Regions from separate parts of the Homo sapiens genome. Here regions 1, 2, 4 and 5 are each linked to region 3. Evidence: promoter capture Hi-C in 16 types of primary human blood cells and fetal thymus (Javierre and others, 2016). All regions are on one chromosome and are shown on one strand. The core of a region is centred on a gene start or on the middle of the fragment in contact, and the rest is flanking DNA. Distances in the headings are between cores, read along the strand shown. Region 1 has its middle 170 kb from the start of LINC02513. Region 2 holds the start of RFC1 (replication factor C subunit 1). Region 3 holds the start of TLR10 (toll like receptor 10). Region 4 overlaps TBC1D1 (TBC1 domain family member 1). Region 5 has its middle 190 kb from the start of PTTG2.

Region 1 (3,424 bases), core at 839-3,338, 580 kb before region 3:
GCTATCAGCATGCAGAAGCACTTCTATGCATGATCAGTATTTATATCCTCTCAGCATCTAACACATGATAGATGTTCAATAAAAGGGGTCAAATAATAATTATTAATAATTGATTTGCTGGGGGAAATAAATGGGCCAGAAATAGTAACTGCCATATTGGCCTTTTTTTCTTTTTAACATATATAACTTGCTCTCTTTAGGTAGCAAATACCTTTGAGTACATTAAGAAGAACATTTACCCTTAAATTAGGCTTAAGGGTTCACGTGCATCAGGGCCTTTAGGAATGCAGTATCCTTAAACACGAAACACACCTACCAGGGGAGTGCCTCCTGTCTGTAAAAAAGCTGCTTTTTGTTTTTCTTTTTTTTGAGATGGAATCTTGCTCTGTCACCCAGGCTGGAGGGCAATGGTACGATCTCAGCTCACTGCAACCTCCACCTCCCAGGTTCAAGCGATTCTCCTGCCTCAGCCTCTGGAGTAGCTGGGACTACAGGCGTGTCCCACCACACCCAGCTAATTTTTCTGTATTTTTAGTAGGGACAGGGTTTTGCCATGTTGGCCAGGCTGGTCTCAAACTCCTCACCTCAAGTGGTCTGCCTGCCTTGGCCTCCCAAAGTGCTGGGATTACAGGCGTGAGCCGCTGCGCTTGGCTTAAAAAGCTGCTTTTTCTAAGCTGCATTAATTCTTTTAGCCTGGCCAGAGGTGCTTTGGTAAATGTTTTTGCTTCAGGGGACTGATTAGTGCTTTGATGTCCCTAAAATGTTTTAACTTAGTTTTACAAAAGAGAGTGATGTATCAACCCAAGGGAATAGTGATGGGCTTTGGGCAGGTCATTCCCTGTTTGGAAGATAGGATGGGGAGCAGAAGAGTGTGGTTTGAGTGCCTGGACACTGTCTGGGCCTGACTGGAAGGGGACACCTTCCCTACAACCTACTGGCCCTTCTTCCCAGTGAGGGGGACGACTGGCCTTATCTGTTGCTAAGAAACTTATAAGAAACTTACACTCCCAGATTACCTTGTGCTACGCCATATCCTGTTTTGAATTTCCAAAGGAGAATAAATAAGAAGAAATGATAGTATTAACAAAATAGCTTCCATTTGTTAAACCCTTCCTATGTGCCAGTCTCCATGCTTGGTTTATATTTAGTATCTCAGTGTAGACCTCACAGCCATTCTAGGAGGCAGTGGTCACTGTCCCCTTTTCACTGACGAGAAAACTGACAATGAGAAGCCAGTTCTCCCAAAGTTGCCCAGATGGTAAACGGCGAAGTGAGGGTTTGACCCCAGGCCTGCCTGTCTGACTGTAAAACTTGGCCTCATAACCACTAAAGGAGCAGATAATTATTTAGAGGAAAAAAACAAATGTGGGGTCTTCTTCAAGATAGTGACAATGGAGATTATAAAGCACAGGAGTGTAGGAGGAGTGGCACGGTGTAGCAATGTGTGCTACGATGACAAGGAAGAGGGAGTTGAATGCTACCCAGAGACGGCTGCAGCAGGGGAAGCCACTTACCCATGCGAACAGGTTCTAGAAAGATGTGGGAAAATGAAAAATGTTGGTGGGGGGAGGTGGCGTGAAGTTGGTAAGATTATGGAGGAGGGACTTTTCTTCCGAAATTTTCATTAATATTGTTGATACATATTTCTAATTAGAACTTGTCAGAGACACTGGAACTGCTTCCTAAAGGGCATAGAAAATGTCTTATTTCAGCTTAAGGTTTATCCAAATTGAGTCGGTAAATGGTTTGTCAACTCACTGTGCTCCGTGTGGAGGCAGGGAGCTTGTGTGAATGAGTTACGGCCACATTCACCAAATCTCTCACTTTCTTTGGTTTCGCACAGAGTCTCTAAAAAGCCCTGCAATGGGAGGATTGAGTGTATTTTCTCTCTGCTCTCTTGGGGAGGCTCCCAAGAGAAAGGAAATGATGCCAGGGTGGGCAGCTCCAGGAGCTGGGATGCTTGGGGGCTCCTTTGTGGAACTGTCTGAACTTGGGGAGTTCAGAGAGCTTTGTGCCGTGACTTTAGGCTTTAAGAGACTTTTAAAACATGGAGTCTTGTCCAGGCCACAGTGGACTTGATTCCCTTAAATCTAATGGGTGACTTAGCAGCTCTCGTGTTTGTTGTGTGAGGTCATAGGGACATCTTCTGCCCAGTGAGCTACACAGATTGAGCCCCACACAATACATTTTGCTCCCTTCCCGTGACAGCCATCCTTGCACCTGCACCCTCATCTGCCTGTACTGCCAAGAGTCATAGGATTGCTTGTGGTGTGGGTGTGAGCGTGTCTTTATTTTCCTTTCTCCAGTCTGCCTGCTTTCTTGGGGGCTTGTGTTTGATTTTGCACTGCTCTTGCTCTCTCTCCCATCCCTGGCCACCCCCGTTCCCACCACACGCAGAGACATATATGTGTGCAGTATGTTTCTCCCCTTCCTGCTTCCAAGATCCAAAACCAGACCATTGCAGGACTACACTGATGCCTGAACTTCTCCACCAGACACTCTCCACCATATTCCTTCCTTAGCTACCCAAGCAAACAAACAGCTTTCTGGACAGTGACTGATGGGCCTTCCCATCAGTCAGATCCTTTTCCTCTGTTTACCATCCCTTCTTTCCATATACCAATCCTGGAACAAGTAGGCACTTTGGGAATACCTGTTGAAAGAACAAATCCCATTCCACCAAATTGTGGATTTGGCTCTTCCATGAAGATTTCAAGTTCATTTTGTTTACTTGCCATAGTTCACCCATGGGTGTAGGAATATCCAAGACTCTAAGCCTAACCTTCCAAGTCCCTCTCATGCCATTCTCCCCACTTATCACACTCTGCTGCCATTAAGCAGGTGCATTTCAGTTCCTCAAACCCTCTAGATTCTTTCCCAGCTCAGGGCCCTTGCAGATAAACTAATTCCTTCTCCTTGAAGTGATCTTTCCTCCCTCCATCTCCAGCCTGACTCTTCGCAGGTCTAGTTCCTTCTCGTCTTTCAACTCTCAGCTTGAACATCAACTCTTCAGGGAGCCGTTTCTCACCATGTTGTATCCACAGTGTCCTTTCCCCCTTCATTCTTTGTAACTACACCTTGTATCCTTCATAGCCAATCACTGTTTGCCATTATGTATCCATTTGTCTGTTGTCTTGTTCCGTGTCTGTCTTTCTCCCCAGGCTGTCAGCTCCGCAAGGATACAGATGATTCTATTGTTTTCACCCCATATACCCAGCACCTGGCACGGAGTAGATTCTCAACAATTCTTAGTTGAATTGAGTGGATGACTGACTGAATGAACAATTGAATGAGTACTTTTCTTTTCTCCCCCTGCTTTTTTTTTTTTTTGAGACTGAGTCTCGCTCTGTTGCTTAGGCTGGAGTGCAGTGGCGTGATCTCTGCTCACTGAAACCTTTGCCTCCCGGGTTCAAGCAATTCTCCT
Region 2 (3,188 bases), core at 480-2,979, 580 kb after region 3:
ACTTTCCATAGAGTCCTTTCTGAGAAAATAGATCACTGGTAGCTGTGTAGTTGCCTAACATGCCAGGCACCAGAACCAGAACGGAAGCTTTACCTATACATCTTGCTTAATCCCCAAAACAATCACTATGGCAGCTATTATTTTCCCCTCTTTTACAGATAAGGAAACAGAGGCTTAAAGAGATTAAACTTAAGCTATTTACTTGCCCAAGACCACGTAACTATTAAACTAGACTATACTAACATAGTAATATAACTATAAATTAATATATAAACCATTAAACTAAAATATTACCACGTTCTTCATCTTCAAGACTCCAAGTCTCAAGCTTCCAAAATACCACAGTGCTTTGGCCTCCAAAATGTAATGATGATCATTATAGGGAAGTAGTATAACATGGTGGTCAGAAACACCAAGATTCTAATTCTAGTTCAACCACCTACTAGTTATATGATACACTGTTTAAATTCCAAAAAGGTGCTTGCACCATCTGTAAAACTGCATCGATGTGGGTTGAAATGAAAAAAAAAAAAAAAAAAAAAAACCATGGAAAACCAACAGTTCACATATTGACCTAAAGAAGATGCTTGGTACAAGGTAGCTACTATCATTACTGTTGCCCTTTTTTGAGAAGAAACACAAAGGCCTGCAACGTTTCCCAGTGTGGCATAAAATTTTCACCGCCCCCCCCCAGAATGTTGTCACTGTGACACGTTGACCAATGATTGAAAAAAATTATATCGGATTGTTAAGTATCTTCTAGCTTAATGAACATTTTAAATGGTCCTTTAAAAATATTTCAAACACAGAGCCATATCCATTGCCATACCATCAGGAATGTCTGCTTTGCTGGCTGCATAATCATTTCACTTTCAATTTGTTTGAACATTTTATCCAGAATTATGCAGTGAGGCTTGGGTTTTTTTCAGATTTTAAACATCAGGTGGTAAGAGGATGACAGCTGTCAAATGTCTTGCATCTGTTTCTATTCGCTGTACTTCTTTTTCCTAGTAAGCCATGTTATCCTTTTGACTCCTATGAACTCATCTAAACAAAATAAAATATCCTCTCCATGCCCTCGGTCTCAACACCGCTCAGGTGATCGTTAATGACGAGCGGAGATGAGACGAGCTGAGCTGTTAATGATAAAAGTTTAAGGCCCTACACAACATATTCCCTAAGAAAGAAAAGTTTGTTACATTCTTCTCCCTCGTGACCCAAAGCTTGAAATCCACGCTTTAGGCAGTACTCAAACTGAGGTTCGGGCAACGCCGAACAAGAAAATAACTTTACCAATGCGTCCCAAAACCACCATCCTTCCTCTCTTCCTTTCTCCCTTCCCCCAAGAGTGGGGGGCGGGGGGAAAGTGCAAGTACACGTAGCAACAAAATCCCTGCGCGCTGGCTGCCGCCCAGAGCCAGAGCCCGCGATGCAATGAAAGTTTTGCGTCCAGTGCCCGGTGTGCGGCCCCTTCTCTGCCTTTGCTAGCCTCCGGAACCACCCACCGCCATCCTCCCCCACCCTGCATACCAGGAGTGCCCGGTCCACACCAGGCCTGCAAAGCCCCCCCAGACCCCGAGCCGCACGGCCTCCCCCAGCGGCTCACCATCGCAGCCCCAGGATGAAGGCGCTGGCTGGCTGGCGGGTGGGCCGGTTGAGGAATCTGTTATCGAGGCTCAGGATCCATTCGCGCCAACAACTTCTCCCGCGAAGTGCAAGAAGGCGAAGACAGTGGCGCGCGGTGATGACGTCAGGAGGCGCGAGCTTTGCTTCCGTCCCGCCCAGAGGCGGGAGGTGCGACGCCTGCCCAGGTGCTGCCCCGAGGGCAGGCGGGCCGCTGACATCGAGAGGAACCACGGTGCTTTGGTGTGAGCTCGGTTTTTGGCGGGGGCGCTAAAGTAGGGGGATCCGATATTGGTTTCCTTGGCAGGCGGGGTACCCAAGTACCTCCCGGTTACACGTCTGGACAATGCACTTCCCTATAGTAACTTTGAAAAGTTTTTACTACCAACTTTAGTAAGATAAATGTTTTAGCTGTGCGTTTTACATATTATGTATAAATATCTATTCTGTAATAAGGTTTCATCAAGAGGCCGGACGCGGTGGCTCACCCCTCTAATCCCAGCACTTTGGGAGGCCGAGGCGGGTGGGTCACCTGAGGTCAGGAGTTCGAGACCACCTGACCAATGTGGTGAAACCCCGTCTCTACTAAAAATACAAAAATTAGCCAGGGGGTGGTGACGTGTGCCTGTAGTCCCAGCTACTCGGGAGACTGAGACAGGAGAATTGCTTGAACCCAGGAGGCAGTGGTGCAGTGAGCCGAGATCGAGCTACTGCCCTTTAGCCTGGGCGACAGAGCGAAACTCCGCCTCAAAAAAAAGAAAAGATACCGAAAGCTTTGGGGTAAACCAGTTGTATATGAATAGATTAGCAATTGAATCACGGAATACAATGAAACATTTGCGTACGATTTCAAGAGAAAGATTAGACCATAAAGAGTTCAATGGAGAAAGCAGTATCTCCAGCTTTGGCTCTAGCTACACTTTTGAAATTCTCACCCATCCACCCCCTGTTGGGTCTTGCGCTTTATGACACCAACATTTCTATGGCGAAAGATAGAACAGCCTGGAATACAACAGAGGCTGAGCATTGACAGCTTGTATTTATTAAACGCCTATTGTTGTACGTGCAGCTCTGGACTAGCCTAGCTCATTTTATCCCCATGATGACACTGACTACTCTTATCCCGAATTTACAGACAGACTGTTACTTATTAACAGGGCCTCACTGCACTGTTCCCTCTGAAGCCAGGATGCTAGGTCTCCAGCCCCACCACCTGCTATTTATGTGACCAAGGGCAAGTTACTGTGCCTCGGTTTTGTCTTAGCAGACATATCACACAAATTTTTGCCCATAATTTTAGAGGACCTACACCAATTTATAATGTTCATTGTGTTATAAATCAATAAATGAGTAAATAAGACATAAAAAGTTGTACGTGTCTTTTATATTACATTCCTCTTAACTTTTGCTTTTTTTTTTTTTTGGCATTTGAAGCCTTCCTTGAGTTTAAATGAGACTTAAGTCAGGAGACTGTAACTTCTTTGTGAGATTGTTTTCTTTAGGAATATTTATTTACATGAAAATACTCTATCTCAGAAATATACCAGATCTAAAATGACTGCATA
Region 3 (3,258 bases), core at 445-2,944:
GTGCTTGGCCTCATTAAAGCAATTTTAAAAGTAGGACATACACTTTTTTTTTTTTTTGAGATGGAGTCTCGCTCTGTTGCCCAGGCTGGAGTAAAGTGGTATGATCTCAGCTCACTGCAAGCTCCACCTCCCAGGTTCAAGCGATTCTCCTGCCGCAGCCTCCTGAGTAGCTGGGATTACAGGCACCTGCCATCACACCCGGCTAATTTTTGTATTTTTAGTAGAGATGGGGTTTCACCATGTTGGTGATGTAGTCTATAAATAGTATATATATGTTAATATCATATCCCTACTACTACGTTAAAAGCAGGTAAAAAACAGAGAATGACCTTCCTTAATACATCTTTAATATCTTATAATTTAAAAGTCCAAGTCAAAAGACATCATCAAATGACAACTAGTGTTTTACCAAAGAATATTTAATCATCTAATTTATCTTTTCCCAATGATATAAAGAAATAGAAAAGAGATTAAGAACCTATTGAATGTTGAATGATCTTTGCAACATAAGAGTAAGAATGACTTCTTTTCAGTATTTCCTACGTGTCTGACATGGAGCTAAGTGTTTTATGTCCATTACCTTGTTTAATCCCTCAATGACTCAACAAAATGGCGGCCATTATTATTCATATTTTACAGATGGAGGAGCTAAAGCCCAGAGGTAAAGTAACTTGCCCAAGATGACCAACTGAAGAAGCAGAGATTTGAACCCAGACCTGTCTGGTTCCTTCTGGATGGTAACTAAACCCAAATGCAAGGCACCTCAAACCTTGAAATGAGGTGGCTTAAGATGTAACGACATCCTAAGGACCGAATCACTGAGGTTGAATCCATTGATCTGACCAGCTGCCATGGCGGCCACTTCCTCCTTTCTCACCCCATGCCCCTGTCTATGAAGCTTCATGCAGCTGCTGTGGGACACTCTGCTAGGTGCCACAAAGTTCAAGAGACTTTGCCTACATGTATAAATATATTCTTAGGAAAGTTATAAGTTCACAAGAATTGAAATAAAACTCGAAGTGCATCCTATTCCTAATTAATAGCTCAGTGTAGGTGGTCTGGGAGAAAGCTTATCAAGAAACCAAATGCTCACAGGTTGTTAACCATCCTCTTCTTTACAGCAACCACATATGGCCCTCTTTGTCCACTTCTGAAGGAAACGGAATAAGAACTGCATTGTACAAGATCCATCAGATCTGCCCCTACTTTTAAACAGGTAACACAAATGCAGAACTTTTCAACGGGGTAAAGGAGCAACAAATATGCCTTAAATAGCCAAAGGTTTCATCCAGCAGAGGTTAACATACGCTGTGGGGAAATAAGAGCTAGAAAAAACTTGCCACAGTGCATAGGACCGTTCAATCTGAATAGAAGAGCTGACCAGGTTTGATCCGCAATCAGTGAAAAGAAACCCACGCTCTCAAGCATCTGCAAGAAATTCCTCAGATCAATAGCCCCAAGGTCACTAATCATTAATCTAGACAAAATAGTAAATACTAAAAATCTAAATAACCCTACTTCCCTCCCCTCAATATTAGCTCAAATTATCTCCTTTTTAGAAAATACCCATGCAGCCCTTATATCTTTTTAATGAGAGTTACAACAAACAAAGCTAAGGTTCTTACCCCACGGCTTGCACTCTCTCAGCAGAGCTGCAGGTGCGTGGATGATTCGTTGACACGGTCAGAATTGGCTGCAGGAGGGAATTGAATCGAGGTTTTCTGTAAAGCTTAAACCCCATCCGCCCTCTTCTGCATGCTACTGGTATTGCATGTTATATATATTCATTATAATCTTAGCACTTTTTTAAATTGTGGTCAAATACACATAACATAGGAGTTATCATGCTCACCATCTTTCTATTTTTATTTTTATTTTTATTTTTTTTGAGGTAGGGTCTCACTTTGTCACCCAGGCTGGAGTGCAGTGGTGTGATCACTGCTCACTGCAGCCTTGACCTCTTGCGCTAAAGCCCGCAAGAGGCTGGGCTTCTCAGTCCCGCAAATGTCTGGGACTACAGGCGCTCACCAACTGGCCTGGCTAAGTTTTTTGTATTTTTTGTAGAGACGGGGTTTCGCCAGTTGCCCAGGCTGGTCTTGAACTCCTGAGCTCAAGTGATCTGCCTGTCTCGGCCTCCCAAAGTGCTAGGATTACGGTGTGAGCCACCGCGCCTGACCTTAAGCATTTTTAAATGTACAATTTAGTGGCATTAATTAAGTACATTCACACTGTTGTGCAACCACCACCACTGCCCATCTCCAAAGATTTTTCGTCATCCCAAACTGAAATTCTATGCCATTAAAAAATAATTTCCCATTTTCCCCTTCCCTCAGACCCTGGAAACTATAATTCTACTTTCTGTCTGTGTGAATTTGACTACTCTAGGTACCTCATGTCCGTGGAGTTATACCATATTTGGTTTTTTGTGACTGGCTTATTTCATTGAGCATAATGTCTTTAAGGTTCATCCATATCATTTCTATTATTATTACATAGAATAATAGAATCTTTCCTTCCTTTTTTAAGGCTGAATACTATTTTGTTGTATGTACGTCCCACATTTTGTTCATTCATTCATCCATCAATGGACATTTGGGTAGTTTTCACCTTTTGGCTCTTGTGAATAATGCTGCTGTGAACGTGGTGCACAAATATCTATTTAAGTTGGTACTTAACATTCTTTTGAGTCTATACCTAGAAGTGGAATTCACGGATCGTATGACCATTCTGTTTAATTTTTTGCAGAACTACCATACTGGTTTTCCACAGCATCTTAGAGCTCTTTGATGATGCTTTTCTTCAAGGTGCAGGTCGGTTATCCCTTTCATCAGTTGGGTGGGGCAGTCATGTGATGATGGGCAGGAGTAGGAATGGTGACTCCATAATTTCAGCAATCAGGCAGGAAGAGGGTGGAAAGGAGTTATCTAGAGCAGTGGTCCCCAACCCCTGGGCCACAGACAGGTACCAGTTCATGGCCTGTTAGGAACCGAGCCACACAGCAGGAGGTGAGTGGTGGGTAAGCAAATGAAGCTTCATCTGTATTTACAGTCGCTCCCCATCGCTTGCATTACCACCTGAGCTCCACACCCTGTCATATCAGTGGCAGCATTAGATTCTCATAGGAGCTTGGACCCTACTGTGAGCTGCATATGGGAGGGATCTAGGTTGCGTGCTCCTTATGAGAATCTAATGTCTGATGATCTGTCACTGCTTCCCATCATGTCAGATGGGACCATCTAGTTGCAGGAAAACAGGCTC
Region 4 (3,234 bases), core at 579-3,078, 650 kb before region 3:
ATGGCAGTGCACATTGATTAGTGGCTGTTGGGAGACAATTTGGCGAAACATATCCCAAGCCAGTAAAATATTCATACCCTTTGACTCAGTCATCCCGTTTCTTGGAATGTATCCTCAGGAAATAATCCAAAATATGAGGGAAGCCATATGTATAAGGTTATTCTCCTAGACTTGTCACTTATAATAACAGAAACTTGGAACTAGATGTCTAACACTTGATGACTGGATTAATATGATGATGGTAGGTTGAGCTGGTAGAATATCATGAAGCCAGTTATATATAGCGACATGAAAAAGCTCTTATTTGATACAATGTTAAGTAAAGGAAAAGTGGGATAGGAAATTTTATGTTGGTTATGTTTAGAACTAGAAAAACATGCTTTTAGGAAATAGGAAATATAGCTAGATATAAAAGTTGTATTTGGTGATTTTTCTTTTATTTTTCAAGCTTCCAATAATGTAGCTCTATTGCTTCAGTAACTTAAAATAGTTTTATCTTTTCGGCAAAACATCGAAAGTATGGAAATAGTCATTCCTACTTTGGCAAACAGAAGAGAAATTTTCTTCAGTACCAAAATTCTGGAACTTGACTGAAAACTATGAAGAACCTAAGAGCCAGGATGACAGGAAGGCTCTAGATCCCCAGTAATTACAACTCTAGTGGAATTGCTCTGAGATGGGCCAGCAAGAAAGAAGATGAGAGCCAGTCCCCCTTGCAGAGGGGCCAGGTACCTTGCAGCTTTGTGTAGTGACCAGTGCTCAGGGAACGGCTTAGGCAAGACCCTGGGGGAGGTGGGCACTGCACTTGTCCAGCCTCAGGAGTGACTCAGACCAGAAATGAAAACACCTTAAAGTGTATATATCTTGTTTTCCTATCAACACCTAGTTTTTAATATTCGTCTGTTTTATTCATCTGAGACAACATACCAAAGGATTGGGTTTTTAATGTTAGGCCTTCCTGCTCTTTCTCTGGCTGAGAACTGCTCCTGGCAGTGGATCACTTGTGCTGTCTAAGTGTGCAAGGACAGGCGCCCCTCCCAATTCTTTTCTTTCCCCAAGTAATTAGCCCAAGGGCTGAAGCCCTCGTTCAGTGACCAGGGTTCTCCTTTGACCACCAGCCTCATATTGCCATGGTTTGGGGTAAATTCAGGGGCATAACTGCAGAATGAAGGGCCTAGGAGTCTTGGCAGTCAGGAGATCATCAGGCAATTAAGCAGAGATGATTGTGACCCAGGGTGGTTCCTAGGGATTAATGGAGGCCTGGAAGAGTTTATGGCTTTGGGTACTGCTGAGAGCCATTAACTTAACACAGAACATCAATCCGTAGGAAAAGCCAGAGGTTTTGTTCCCAGGCTTTCCAGGTTAGGAGATCACTTAAATCTTTGTGAAAGAAAAAAAGTAATAGTGTACATGACATTTATTCAGCACCATATTTATAATTATACATGAGTGCCAAACAATCTCAGTTTTAACATTTGTGGTTTTTACTGTTCAGACTATTCAGAAGTTCCATGACGTGGCATCCATTGATGATGGTTTTGCTGAGGTTGAAATGTGAGGGTTTTGTGGCAGGTGTGTGGAAGCAGATCCCTTAGCTAAGAGAGCGCCTGCTCAACCTGCCAGGCGTGTGCTGGGAACTTCCAGGAGTTGCCTCGTTTAATTCTCACAGCCATCCTGGGAGGTAGGCGCTGTCTGCCCCAGGTGGGAGGCCAGGAACTGTGGCTGAGAGAGGTTAAGTACCGAGCTCAAGTCATTCATAGAGTCGCCAGTGGAGCCGCAATTTTAAGGCTGACTCAAAGCCTCTGAGCCAGTTACCTCGGCTGTCAAATGGAGATAATAATCCCTGCTGACCTCACGGTCGCTCTGAAGGACAAAAGAGAATCAGTTCAATCCAGTAAACAATTCTCTCTCTCCCTCTTACTCCCCTCGCACACATGCACACACACCCCACAGATATAATGGATTTTAGTTTTTAGGCATCAAATGACTTTTGTGCCTTATTAATATTATCCACTGAATCAAAAACAGCAAGCTGAAAAATTCATCTCAAGGAAGAGAAAATAAGATTGTTGGGAATGGTGAGAAAGGAAACATGGTTTTTGAAAATTGATTCCAGGGAAGATAGGCTAGTTTGAATGCCAGTAGGGAGCCATCAGAAGAAGTAGTTTTACACTGATTTTTAACAATATTGGAGTTGCTTAAGGCAATGCAATAGAGAGGCAGTTTCTGCCCTTTTAAAGCCTGACTTCACTTTCTGAATGTGTGTTCTGATCTAGCAGGGTTTTTTTTTTTTTTCTTTTAAGATGGTCCCAGCTTGACTGCATTCTCAGATCCATCAGATAAACGTTAGGGCTTCACTGCTGTGCTGAGAGGCCCCAGCCCCTGGGGTTCTCTCATAGAAACAACTGGAAAGAAAGGAAATGCCTTGGGCAGCAGCAGCAGCAGCTGTCTTCTGATTCTGCTTTCCGCCCTGCCTTCCTTACCAAGAGAAAGTACAGACACGGACGGCTTGAGTCACTTAGGCACTTAGGAGTTGTTTTTCACACGTGTGGTGTTTTCGTCACCATTACTATTGTGGGAAAGAAGACAACTCAGGCATCGTTTCGTATTCACTCATCTGTGTGGGTGACATGTGGGTTTTGGCTCATTTCTGCATATTTGTGTGCAAAGGAGAGTTTTTTAGTAAACAGTCCCATTACTTAGCTGTTCTTGTAACTCTGAAAACCCAACTGAACTATAATTAAACTTTGACTTGGTGACTCTGCAAACAGGCTATGATTCTTTTGTTTCTTTTCTCCTTTTAACCCATAGTTGATGTATCTAACCTAACAGAATTTTCAGAGAAAAGAAGTGAAATAAGAACTAAAAATAAATTTTTATGTCTTTAAAAATGAGAGGTTTTTTTTTTTTTTTTGGCTTTTGGAAGGTGAGTATCAAAAACCTGTACTTAATGTTACCTTGGAATTATTTCTAGATGTTTCTTATATCCTTTTGTCCCAAGTAAAATTATTACCTTCTCAGTGCGTAGTTTTTCTTATTTATTACTTCTAGTACCAAGTGTAGAGCTAAGCGTAGAGGAGACGCTTCACAGGTGCGCATTGTCGTGATTGCAGACGCCTGCCTGTACTTGTGGGGTTTTTCTCAGTTTTAGTACGTGATGACTTTTCTTTCTATAACAGGTATTTGAAATGGACATCGCTAAACAGTTACAAGCTTATGAAGTTGAGTACCACG
Region 5 (3,461 bases), core at 762-3,261, 630 kb before region 3:
TTTTAACAACTGGGGAATGAAGAAGGGTGTGTGTTAGTGTCATCTAGTGGGTAGAGGCCAGAGATGGCTGCTAAACATCCTACAATACTTTGAACAGCCTCCGCAACAAGTTATCATGGGTCCAAAATGTCAGTATTGCTGATGTTGAGCAACCCTGTTCTTGGGCAGTGGTTTTGAAGCTTGAGTCCCCTGGAGGGTTTCTTAAAATACAGATGGCTGGGCCCCACCCCCAAGGTTTCTGATTCAGTAGTTCTGGAGGGGGGCCTGAAAATTTGCATTTTGGTAAGTTTCCCGATGATGCTGAGGATGCAGGTCCAAGGACCACACTTTCTTTAAGAAACTCTGCCCTGGAGACTTTGCCTTGTCCACAGGGAAGAAATAGGCTTACCAGCACCAGGTCTTTGCTCTGCCTGTGAGAAAGGATAAAAGAGAGGGGAACATTGCCCATTTATTGCCCGTTGCCCATTTTATAAATACAGAACCAAGAAGTAGCAGAAACCATTTCCATCCATGGTCCATTAGCATGAACTCACTGATGTAGCCACACCAAGTGGCACAAGAGCCTGGGAGATAGGGTCTCAATGTGAGCCCCACAAAGATGGGGGATTTTGGCTGGGCATGGTTGCTCATGCCTGTAATCGCAGCACTTTGGGAGGGTGAGGCGGGTGGATCACCTGAGGTCAGGAGTTCGAGACCAGCCTGGCCAACATGGTGAAACCCTGTCTCTACTAAAAATACAAAAATTAGCCGGGCATGGTGGTGGGCGCCTGTGGTCCCAGCTACTCGGGAGGGTGAGGCAGGAGAATCACTTGAATCTGGGAGGCGGAGGTTGCAGTGAGCCGAGATCGCGCCACTGCACTCGATTGCCAGCCTGGGCAACAGAGCGAGACTCCGTCTCAGGAAAAAAAAAAAAAAAGATGGGGGGATTTTATTACAAAGGGAAGAAGGGAATGTGGATATTAGAGACAGTTCACAGTCTCTGCTGAAAGGCTCTGCCAAGATCTGCCCCCACCCCTCCTTGCTCTCAGACCTTGCTTCCTACCTCTCCTCCTCACTTACTGCAACTCTCTGGCCTCTGCTCTGCTGACAACCCCCATGCTCCCTCTCAGGGCATCTGCACTCATTGCTCCATCTGCTTTGGAAGCTCCTGTCCTGGTCAGACATTTGGTTTGTTTCCTCACTTCACTGTGGTCTCACCTTGTCTAATAGGCAGCCCCTGCCCCCTCTGCCCTGTACTCTCTATCCAGCCCTGTCCATGCTAATTACTGCTCTCTGACAGTATAGTCCATGTTTGGTTGCTTATCTGTCTGTCCCTGCCACAGGAAAGTAAGATTTGTGAGGAAAGGGTCTTACTTCCTCACTGTTGTTATATCTTGGGCAGCACTTGGACATAAGAGGCAATCAGATATTCAGTAAACAAATGAAAGTGCATCTTTCATTTTTGACAGACGCTGCCAGATTGGTGTTTAGAATGTAAATCCATGAGCCTGCTCAACCCTCATTAATATGGAATATTTTCTTTGAGCTTCTTGTGCCCAGTGTGGTTGCAAATAGGCCTTGCGGGCCTGGAACATTCATCACTCGCCTCTGCCTCGCTGGGGTGGCCTCATCTCCCCAGGTTCCTTGAAGCTGCACTTCCCAGCTGGGATGTGAGCCAGAGGAAACAAGGGGGTCTGGCTGCAAATCCTTCTAAGGAGGGGACCCCACCTCTCAGAGGAGTGTGTGATGGTCACACCCATTTAACGTGATAGCCCAATCAAGGGAGAGGCCATAGATTCATCTGATTTAGCCCCCCAGAAAAAAATCATATCCTTATCTAAACTATCTTGACTTACAAGATTCTTAATGGCTCAAAAGTGCTTTATCAGCTCAAGCTGATCTAAGAAAATAAACATTTCATAATTGTGATAATACAAGTGGCTCCAGACGAAAGAACAGCTCAATCCTGATGGATGGTTCTTATAAATAAACCAGGCAATCACACACTGCAGAAATAACTAGAATTTCTATGACTTCACGGGGAGCCAAATGGAAATGCCCTTGCCAAGTGAATGCTAAAGTCATCCCATAGTCAAAATGTGGTCAGGCGCTAAGTGTGAGCCAAAACATTTTGCTGCAGCTACAGCCATTCCTCAAGTGGAACCCAGTTAACTTGGGTCCTCAAATTGAATTTTTATGCTTTGATTTTTAGGGAAAGGGAATACACTATAACAAAATATTGCACATAGAAAGGGTCTGATTAAAACCAAAGAGAAACAAGATACCAGCGACCAGCAGCAGGCTGGAAATCGGGTTTGACTCAGTGGCTTACGTGTTGCATGTCTACAGACTACATCATCTGGACTTACAGCGCCCTGCAGCCCAGCAGTGTCCTGGATGATTAAAAGCAGGCCCAGGCATTGATTCATGAGACAGAGATTTTCAGCATCACTGGTGAAAATAAAAATAGTTTCCTTTTAGCCAGAAAAGGTCAGCTATCAGAAGAACCTCATTTCCTTAGCATTTTAATTTTTGAGATTTTATGGTGATAAGAAGAAACAAATTATTTTTCAACGCAGTGCATTCTAACAATTTCTCTGGAAAATTGTATCTTCTGAGGCCAGGCATCCATGTGGTCTTTTTTTGGTGGACATAATAGTAGCCAAGACAAAACCAGGGAGGCCCAGCTTTGCCTGCTGGCTCAATTCTGAGACAACTGGTACCTCCCTGAGAACAGGGCTTCACTCAAGACAGGTTGGCCAGAAGATGTTATTTGGTTCAGCCTATCTCCATACCTTCCCCTGGAGCAAATGTCATGATTTCTCATATTGCCCAGTCTCTAAATCCTCTTGGTAACTAGCTTGGTGGTTGTATTATTCCTTTTTCACACTGCTATAAAGATACTACCTGAGACTGGGTAATTTATAAAGGAAAGAGGTTTTATTGACTCACAGTTCTGCATGACTGGGGATGCCTCAGGAAACTTACAATCATGGCAGAAGGTGAAGGAGAAGCAAAGGCACGTCTTACATGGTGGCAGGTGAGAGAGAAAGTATGAGCAAGAGCAGGGAAAACTGCCTTATAAAACAATCAGGTCTCCAGAGAACTCACTCACTACCACAAGAACAGCATCGGGGGAAAAGCCCCCATGATTCAATCACTTCCCCTCAGGTCTCTCCCTAGACATGGGGATTATGGGGATTACAGTTCAAGATGAGATTTGGGTGGGGACACAGCCAGATCGTATCAGTGGTCTGTGCATTATGGGCAGTCAACATGGAGGAGTGAACACCTGGGAAAGGTAGCCAATTCCAGGCTTGGGAAGGCTCCAAAGCTGTTCCAGAAATGGAACCAGCCACCCCGGCAGGGTGGGGACATGCAAGAAACCATAGGACACCTCCTTGGCTTCAGGACTGGTAGGCACCAGCCACAAAGTCACATCTTGGCCCTTTCCAAGGTTTTCCAGAAAGTTCTAGCATTCT

Evidence for each region. Contacts are between HindIII fragments. The CHiCAGO score rates a contact against its expected background, and 5 or more counts as called.
Region 1: a contact is called between a fragment that was not itself captured here and the fragment with the promoter of TLR10 in region 3, in 7 of 17 cell types (naive CD4 T cells, activated CD4 T cells, naive CD8 T cells and 4 more). The highest score is 6.1, in naive CD4 T cells.
Region 2: a contact is called between the fragment with the promoter of RFC1 here and the fragment with the promoter of TLR10 in region 3, in 3 of 17 cell types (total B cells, naive CD8 T cells and erythroblasts). The highest score is 9.7, in total B cells.
Region 4: a fragment that was not itself captured here is called in contact with the fragment with the promoter of TLR10 in region 3 in 5 of 17 cell types (naive CD8 T cells, naive CD4 T cells, total CD8 T cells and 2 more); the score reaches 7.6 in naive CD8 T cells.
Region 5: a contact is called between a fragment that was not itself captured here and the fragment with the promoter of TLR10 in region 3, in 3 of 17 cell types (endothelial precursors, total CD8 T cells and erythroblasts). The highest score is 5.4, in endothelial precursors.

Annotation. Positions count from the first base shown.
Region 1 is chr4:38,197,366-38,200,789 of GRCh38, forward strand. No RefSeq gene overlaps it. Among named protein-coding and RNA genes, the nearest start is that of LINC02513, 170 kb to the right of the region's middle. The HindIII fragment of the contact is 6,971 bases long and covers 1-3,424 here.
Region 2 is chr4:39,364,633-39,367,820 of GRCh38, forward strand. It overlaps RFC1 (replication factor C subunit 1), which reads right to left and starts at 1,730. Exons shown (of 25, transcript NM_002913.5): 1 at 1,607-1,730. The coding sequence starts at 1,609. RefSeq lists an enhancer at 1,652-1,771. The HindIII fragment of the contact is 1,173 bases long and covers 1,222-2,394 here.
Region 3 is chr4:38,781,296-38,784,553 of GRCh38, forward strand. It overlaps TLR10 (toll like receptor 10), which reads right to left and starts at 1,695. Exons shown (of 4, transcript NM_030956.4): 1 at 1,626-1,695. RefSeq lists enhancers at 575-784, 847-1,016. The HindIII fragment of the contact is 660 bases long and covers 1,068-1,727 here.
Region 4 is chr4:38,129,905-38,133,138 of GRCh38, forward strand. It overlaps TBC1D1 (TBC1 domain family member 1), which reads left to right. Exons shown (of 22, transcript NM_001396959.1): 21 at 3,180-3,234. Among named protein-coding and RNA genes, the nearest start is that of PTTG2, 170 kb to the left of the region's middle. RefSeq lists a silencer at 3,034-3,173. The HindIII fragment of the contact is 2,765 bases long and covers 447-3,211 here.
Region 5 is chr4:38,148,555-38,152,015 of GRCh38, forward strand. No RefSeq gene overlaps it. Among named protein-coding and RNA genes, the nearest start is that of PTTG2, 190 kb to the left of the region's middle. The HindIII fragment of the contact is 3,669 bases long and covers 178-3,461 here.